Linked DNA regions of Homo sapiens: regions 1 and 3 are each linked to region 2. Evidence: promoter capture Hi-C in 16 types of primary human blood cells and fetal thymus (Javierre and others, 2016). All regions are on one chromosome and are shown on one strand. The core of a region is centred on a gene start or on the middle of the fragment in contact, and the rest is flanking DNA. Distances in the headings are between cores, read along the strand shown. Region 1 has its middle 15 kb from the start of KRT25. Region 2 holds the start of KRT38 (keratin 38). Region 3 holds the start of LOC105371777 (a long non-coding RNA gene).

The links. Contacts are between HindIII fragments. The CHiCAGO score rates a contact against its expected background, and 5 or more counts as called.
Region 1: a contact is called between a fragment that was not itself captured here and the fragment with the promoter of KRT38 in region 2, in 1 of 17 cell types (endothelial precursors). The highest score is 5.3, in endothelial precursors.
Region 3: a contact is called between a fragment that was not itself captured here and the fragment with the promoter of KRT38 in region 2, in 2 of 17 cell types (erythroblasts and M0 macrophages). The highest score is 8.1, in erythroblasts.

Annotation. Positions count from the first base shown.
Region 1 is chr17:40,738,733-40,741,432 of GRCh38, forward strand. No RefSeq gene overlaps it. Among named protein-coding and RNA genes, the nearest start is that of KRT25, 15 kb to the right of the region's middle. The HindIII fragment of the contact is 1,719 bases long and covers 591-2,309 here.
Region 2 is chr17:41,439,662-41,442,361 of GRCh38, forward strand. It overlaps KRT38 (keratin 38), which reads right to left and starts at 1,322. Exons shown (of 7, transcript NM_006771.4): 1 at 769-1,322; 2 at 500-582. The coding sequence starts at 1,260. RefSeq lists an enhancer at 978-1,478. The HindIII fragment of the contact is 7,679 bases long and covers 1-1,545 here.
Region 3 is chr17:40,848,087-40,851,119 of GRCh38, forward strand. LOC105371777 (a long non-coding RNA gene) reads left to right here and starts at 2,712. Exons shown (of 3, transcript XR_934754.3): 1 at 2,712-2,774. The HindIII fragment of the contact is 1,881 bases long and covers 317-2,197 here.

The DNA of each region.
Region 1 (2,700 bases), core at 200-2,699, 700 kb before region 2:
CTGGCCCACATCGGTGCTCCCCACGTGGTCTTGCACAGAATGACATGCTTCCTTCTCTGGGAAACGTAAGTAATACAAATCTTTAGTGGCACTGTCCCCTCTGTATTGTCACTCAGTTGTGCCTGTAAATTAAATCCCAGGTATCATCTTAATACACAAGCTCCATGAAAGCAGGGGCCAGTTTGTCTGGATTCCCCTAGATTCACACTCCCATAGGATTGAAGTGGGCACTGTATTGATATCTGTTGACCAAACTAATGGATAACAGACATCAGTCATCCTTTGCTCAAACTGATGTATCCACATTTTTCTACAAAGATTAAAGGAGAAATGGAACCGAGTTGGAATTATTTCACACAAAAACTATGAATACACAGTTTTTAGTTAATATTTGTAAGCATTCTCCAAGGGGCAGAGTGATAGGTGTTTTAAAAGAACAAATCAGAAATGTTTGCAGAATAAAGGTGGTGACTATGAAATATCAATTTCAATGCTATCTTCCACCTTCTCTTAGATTATCCCTAACTGAATATACATCCACCATTTGGGCAGTTTTATTACCTGTGCAGGTCTATGCGGATATAACTTTAAGCTTAAGTAAGGACAGATGCAATATTATAAGATTTGGTTTCCCTATGAAGTAAGACTTTATCTAGTAAGACATTAATGTAAATACCTGAAAATCTCATAATTGCTATGAACCAAGAATTAGCAATGACAGAAGCCACAGTGGCAGATGGAAGAGAAACAGCTTTGCTAGGGAGCCATGAAGACACACTGGCTACACTGTGTTAGTGGAAGCTCTGGAAACATCTCCAGAAAGTTGTTTTCTTTCTGCAACATAGTAATTATTCTATTTCAAAAATCACTTTCCAAATGAAGTAGTTCTATTACTGAATAAGAGTCTTATTTTTGAGAACATTCTTGATTATTGTTATTAAATGGATGGGAACAGTGGCACAGAACCCAAGGGGCATAAAACCAACAAAGTGTTTTCTATTTGGCGGGGAATGTCTTTTATGCACACATTTGTTGGGGCTGCATTGTTTGCTCTGGGAACTCAAGACAAACAATGCAAACAAAGTCTCCTGACTTACCTTAACTCTCCTCCCTCCTGGGTTCCTCCGACCCTTTTTTTTTTGTTTTGAGACAGGGTCTTGCTCTACTGCCCAAGCTGGAGTGCAGTGGTGTGATCATATCTCACTGCAGCCTCCATCTCTGGGGCTCAAGTGGCCCTCCCACCCCACCCTCCCGAGTAGCTGGGACTACAGGCACTCCACACAATGCCCGGCTAATTTTTTTTTTTTTTTTAAAGTAGAGATGAGGTCTTGCTATGTGACCCAGGCTTGTCTAGAACTCCTTACTTCAAGCCATCCTCCTCCCTCAGCCTCTCAAAGTGCTGGGATTACAGGTGTAAGCCACCGCTTCCGTCCTAACCCTATTTTCTAATTCATGTCTATCTGCATCCTCATCCACTGCTCAATGTGTTCCTGACCTCGGGTCTTCATTGTCTGCAGAGTTCTTCTTTCTGATCGACTTTCAAGGTATCAGTGGTTACCTCTCTCCTATGCAATCCAAAACCTCCCCTCCTGCTCCAATTCTTTCTCTTAGAAAATTGATTGATTGTTCTCACCTTCGTGCTTGTGTTCTAAGCTAAACTCGCCACCTTTCCATTCCACTGAATCCCTTTTCAGTTTGCTGCATCTCTCAATAGCATCGTTATTTTCTAGTCATTAGTCACTTTCTTTACTTAAAATATTGGTATTATTTTTGTCATCTGCTTAAAAATTTTTCATTGTATAATTTCCTGCATACAAAAAATTTAGAAATTGTGTAGTTTAAATAATAAATAATAGTAAAACATACCTGTATCTTAGAGACCCTGCTGTTTCTCCCCAGTGATATCTCCCCTATTACTGCTCAGGTGTCATCACTATCCTGAGTTTTCTTTATTACTTGCTGTGAAATAATAAGAAATATATAGTTGGCCTTTGTCTCTATTTCCTGGCACACAGCTTCTAAAATCCTTGTAATTTCCTCAGTGATAGAAGCATCTTTTCTTGTCCTGACCCAGAGCTCCTAAATCCTTTGAAATTTCTTGTGTGATAGGAGCATCTTTGGTTCTAATGAGGTGACTCTTGGTGGGCCGCTAAGTAGCTTTAGGATGGGGGCTGGCTGCCAGAAAGACCAAACCTTGATGAGAAGCCTAGACATTTCAGCCCTAACCCTTCCCCACCCTCCAGAGAGGGGACAGAGGCTGGAGACTGAGTTAATAATCGATCATGCTTACATGATGAAACCTCAATAAAAGCTTCTAAATGAGGGGGTTCAGAGAGTTTCTGGATTGGTGAACACATCAAGGTGCTGGGAGGTGGCCCACCCGGACAGGGCATGGAAGCTCCGTGTTCCTCGCCCCTGACCTTGCCCCGGGCATCTCTTGTATTCAGCTGTTGCTGAGTTGTATCCTTTATAGTAAACCCACAATAATAAGTAAAGCACTTACCTGAGTTCTGTGAGTCATTCTAGAGAATTATTGAACTTTGCGGAGGGGGAGGTTGTGAGAACCCTGAATTTGTAGCCATGTCAGACAGAAGTGTGGGTAACCTGCGGGCCTGATACTTGTGGCTGGTATCTGATGTGAGGACAGTCTTGTGGGACTGAGCCTTTAGACACGTGGAGTCTGACACTAACTCCAGGGTG
Region 2 (2,700 bases), core at 72-2,571:
CCATTGCAGGGGCTGTCAGTTACCAAAGATAAGCAATAACCAGGTGCCTGATCGTGATCTGCGGCTCCTTATCCCTTGCTTTCAGCTGTCTTCCCCTCTCTCATTTTTGCCTAGGTACCTTATACCTGGTACCTTAGGGCTCCCTAATTAAATCTGGACAAAGACTCATCTGTAAGTGACTCCTCTGACTTATATATGAAACCCAATGGCTGTCTTGCTCAGTTCATCCTTCAAATCACCTCATTTTGCTCCTGGTTAATGAACTCAGGCTGCCTTATCCTCCATTTTAGGGAAATAAATGAAGGAAGACAAACATATATGCTTGGATTAATGAGGAGTTTTCCCTTCCATCTTCCATCAGCTTCGATTGTAATGAAAATTTTACTGTAGAGAATCTAGCAAGGAAGAAATGACAATGATTCCCTCACTCAACAAGTATTTGGGCATTGGGATGGAGGGTGGGGAAGGAGTCACCCTGGCCCTCCTCCGCCTGACTTACTTGATCCTAAAGTCATCGGCAGCCAGCTTGGCATTGTCAATTTGTACAATCAGCCTGGCATTCTCGGCCTTGCTGCACAGGATCTGAGGAGAACAGGAAGACAGTTCACACACAAAGCATCATGCCCTAGGCTCCTTCTCCACGTGTGGTGTCTATGATCATGTCCAAGAGAAACCAAGAACCCAAAGTTCTCTGAGCTTTACATGGATTCCTCCTGTCTTGCCTCTGCCATCTCAGACCCAGCACACCCAAGCGATCCCACACCTCACCTTCTGTTGGAGCTCCTCGATGGTGTGGAAGTAAGACTGGTAGTCGGGGCACACGGTGGACTCGTGGCACTTGCTCCTCTCGAGGAGTGTGGCCTCCAGCTCCGCATTCTCCTGCTCCAGCTGGCGCACCTTCTCCAGGTAGTTGGCCAGGCGGTCATTCAGGAACTGCATGGTCTCCTTCTCATGGCCATTCAGGGTGTTTTCACCATAGGCCCCACAGATTCCAATGTTGCCAGGAATGTGGCAGGTCCCTGGCAAGGGACAAGCAGTGTGGCAGGTAGGCGGCAGACAGAGGCTGGGGCGGCCCAGGGGAGTGGACCCCACACGGACTCGGTTGGCATGTGCCACGTTGGCCAAAAGGCACATGGGGGCAATGTTGGCCTCTGCCCCAGGCTGGCACCCAATGTCGATGGGAGAGACAGAGACATTTCTTGCTCCAGGAGCCATGGTGCAACCCAGAGGGCATGAGGAGCTGCTGTAGGAAGAGGTCATGGTGTTGGGCTGAGGCTGCACAGGAGCTTCAGATCAGCTGGGAAAGCTGAACCACTGAGACTGAAGCCTCCTCTCCTCCCAGCCCTTTTATACCCCATCCTGGGCGGGTGTTGGCTCCAATGCTTTGACCTCCTGCCTTGATTATCTACCTGTTGTGGTGCCATCATCCTGTTACTCAGCTGCTGAGTTTACCATGAAAAGTTTCTCAGCTCGTTAAAGGAATGTTGACGAATCTGAGGCCTCTTGGCTCTTTGAAATCAGGTTGGCTGTTGATGGGAGGTCAGAAGCTTTTTATTATCTTTCAAAGAAGCAAAGTTATAGCCATCAGATGCTTAGACCTTGACTGGGTTTGGCCTCTTTATGGATGTGTCCACTCTGGAGACACAAACTTTCCTGTTGGTCAGTGGTGTAGCAGGAGGACTAACCCCGGTGATGACAATGGTTCTCACTTGGGTTAAGACTCAACCAGCCTTCCCTATCCAGGGAAGAAACTGAGTCTTGGAATTGGTGGATGTTATGGCCTTGGGTTATCAAGAAGTCCTACATTTCTTCTTTCTTTAGTTGGTTGCCTTTCAGACTCACTTTGAGGAGCAACAAGACTTAGATGAATCCAGTCACTCAAAACACATCCCCTGGCTACGTCCCATATGCTACGCACCTTGCTGATGCTTGATATATAGTTGGTTAAGCACAAAATAGTTCCTGCCATTGGGGAACAACTGTAACTTGGGTAGACGTGATGTTTCAAACAAGGTATCTGAGAAGCTCATGAAAATGAGGATGACTCCAAAAACCATGGCTTATCTCGACCAAGAAGGGCAAGCTCAAGAAGCCAGAAATAAACAAAGAGAAATGAGCAATAATCTTACTGAACCTCAAATAAGAACTTGGTCATGAAAGTCAAAGGACATTGAGTGATCAGAGCCTCTGTGGGCTCTCTTCATACCTTGCTTCCTTTATTCTAAAGTCAGTCATGAGCCTTCACCCTATGAGCTAGGGGATTGAGCAATGATACCTTTTAATCTTTACTTCCAACCTGGGAGGTGGGTACTCTTAATTTTACAAAATAAATAAACAAGCCATTGAGGACAGTTTTCTAAGATCAACCTCACTATAAAGTATAAAGCCTATTCTCAACATCAGCTTCTTTCAACTCCAGAAACTGTTTCTTCACCTTGACCACCTCCAAATCCTCCACCCCAAGGATAACTACTGTGTCATTGCTAGAACTAAGAAGGATTCAAATTCCTAGAAACCGGGCAAGAAGTTGAAATTAAGATGTAAAACAAAAATCTGACATTGTGTATTTTTCCCTTTGTATCTCAGAAAATACAGATGTGGAGGTATTCATACAATAAAACAGAGTTTCTCCAAGGGCTAAATCAGAAGATGCCAGGGGAAAGTCCTGTCCCTAAAATGGTTATATTACACATTCCACAT
Region 3 (3,033 bases), core at 7-2,506, 590 kb before region 2:
CTTCCAGCATTGCCTGTTACAGGGTGTATGGTAAATTGCTTAATCTCTTTTAATCTTCACGTGAGAAATAATATCCAATTCATAAATCTGAGAATACCAATTTAGATAACACATACAAAGTGTTCTTCTACAAAGTGTTCTACACAGTGGGTACTCATAGACATCTGTCCTTTCTTTCTTCTCTTGTTAAATATTCAACACTAAACGGAACCCCTTATCAGATATCTCCAATCTCTACTAAAATATTTCTAGTGATGAGAAACTCATTGTCTCATGAAGCACTTCACCTTCCTTTGAAGTGCTCTAATTATTAAAAAGCTTATCTTTCTATTTAACTGAAATCTGCCACACAGAATATAGCTTTGCTGATGGAGAATCTTTTGGGTATTTGACAAGATTACTCTGTGTTTCTAAGTCTTTTATTTTCCAGGTTATGGATCACCAGTTCATTCAACTGTTCCTTAGATGACGTGGTTTTCAATTCCATTATCATGTAGGTTGCCTTAACTTGGATCACTTCTAAATCTGTAGGATTAATCTGACCTCTCTTTTTCTGTTTCTAGTATTAGCTTAGGGAATATTTTTTAAGGAATGCCTGCTAACTGTGTTTTATCCCATTGCACTTGATCACCAGCATAATGCTACTTCCAAAGATATAACACAGAATTTATTGTTTTCATATGTAAATTTATAGAAACTATTTAAATTTAATAATTAATTATTAGTAACCTATAACCCCCCCCCCCCCCTCACCACTCCTTGGTTTCAGGGTTTGGTTTCAGGGTGGCTCAGGTGTCTTGAACACATTTGTAATGGAAACTTGATAAACTCCTATTTTGGGTTCACCCTCTTTTCTTGGGTGTGGGGCCAAAGTTTGTCACTTAGATTAACTAGTTGGCTTGCAAGCTATAATTATCTTCCTCCTCCAATTAAAATCACATTTCTGTATTGCCACATCTAGTTATTGCAAAATCTAGCAATACACCTTGGATTCTTATTTCCCTCTAAGCAGACTTTCCCTGACGATTCATATTTTTTCTTCTGGGTTGTTCAACTCTTAGGTATTGCTCTTGTCCCACTGCTGAGTAGGACATTGTTTCCAACAAAGATTGATCATTGGGTAATTTACAATATTGTTGGTTTTGTTTTTCTGTGTCTCATTTGCTGTATTAGAATGATTAACACACATTATTATATTATTATTTCTAGATTTGATTAATAGAATTTTGGGTGACTCATATACTCCAGCTATACCTATGTGACAGCATAATTGGATCCAAAATGAAAAATTCAATCAACATAGGGTTTTATTTTTAATTGTGCCAAATGAAAGGCTTAATTAATAATTTTCATTGGATTTTAGCTAATCCGTTTACCGGAATTTTTCAATCATGTGTTATGAATGTATAAACCTAATGTGATATTTCTAAACATCATTTCAACCTACATGTATTTGGCATGCCCACATTTTCTGCCAGATGCTGCATTAAGTACTGGGGACTTATTTCTGGATGGCCAATAATACCTGGCCCAGCCTTTGAGGAGGAATAAGATACAAAAATTCGTCTTCTAAAAAGGAAGTGCAGACTACCTGGGTCAAGGAACTTATGGTTCTCAGCTGGTGTGATGATTACTTAGTTTTATGGGAAAACACTCCAGAGGACACGCTCTTTGGTCCTATTCTTGCCAATCCACTCCCATTTAATACCATATGTTGAAATTTTATGTACTCCTCAAGGCTCTGCTCAGATGCCTTTCTGCTGTAAAGAGTGGTCCTCATATCCCAGCCCTTTATATTACCTCCCTTTTCCAAACTTCTGTGGCAGGTCACTTTATACCTGGCGAGGCAAGGTTATTTGCATACCTGACTAGTCCGCTCCCATTTGCTTCCATAGTGACCAGTAAATATTAGTTTGATTGAGAGAAAAGTGTATTTTACTTATTTTTAATTTTTATTCCTAACTGCTAGACCACCAAAGAGAGAGAGCACAATGTTTTTTAGATAGAACACCTCGTTATTAAGGGAGAACAAGTTCTATTTTGATCTAGATTGGCAGGAGTATTACATTTTCAGACTGAATATTTTCATGGAAAGCCAGTGTTCCATCAGCCATTTTAAGATAACTCAGTTTTGTATCTATGGTTAGGCGATTGCCTACATACAAAGCACACTTTAATGACGAATTAGAGGATTCCAAGCTTGCCTTTATAAGTGAATATCTACAGATTTTTTTTTCTTATAAATACTACATGGAAACCAAGTTACTCTATGTTTTGAAAGCAACTTCTAGTACTCTTTAGATGTATGGGAAAAAGTCCTCAGGTTAATTTCCTTAAGAAAAAGCGTCATGAATTAAAAGACTGCTTGTTGAAACTGAAGATCACTTTCTACTGAGTCACCAGATATTGAGCAATATGATTTATATCAATATGCCTTGTGAAATTGTCAAGTTAAAGATTGTACATATTAGATAAGAAAATTTTGTGTCCCTATAGAGTGACAAGTATCTTGAGGGTTTTCTGGAAATATTGAATTCAACAAATATCTCAGTAAAATGCAAACAACTTCTTGATGGATTTTTTAGTCTCAAACAGCCAGCCTAATTCCTTTATTAAGATTTAAGGAGAAGGAAGTAAGTGGAATTCAATTTCATATGACGCAAGCATATTTTAAATAGAGTAACCAAAACAAATAGATTCAAATGGAATCTATGCAAACCATCCTCTTTGCTTCCTTTGTGATGGACACTCCTTAGCTTCTGCGCCTTAATAAGGTAGGGTTTGTTCATTCAGTCTTTCCAAAGATAAGTGTTGGAAAATTTAGAGTTAATAAATCAGTGGATAAAAATTCAATGACTATTTCAAGAAAATAATAGAAGAAATATATCGCCACCATTCAATGTTTGTGCAACCAGTGTTTATTGAGTGCTTTTAATGGTACCTAGAGAGTAATACAGGTGGTCAAGCACAGTGGCTTATACCTGTAATCCAAGAACTTTGGGAGGCTGAGGTGGACAGATTGCTTGAGCCCAG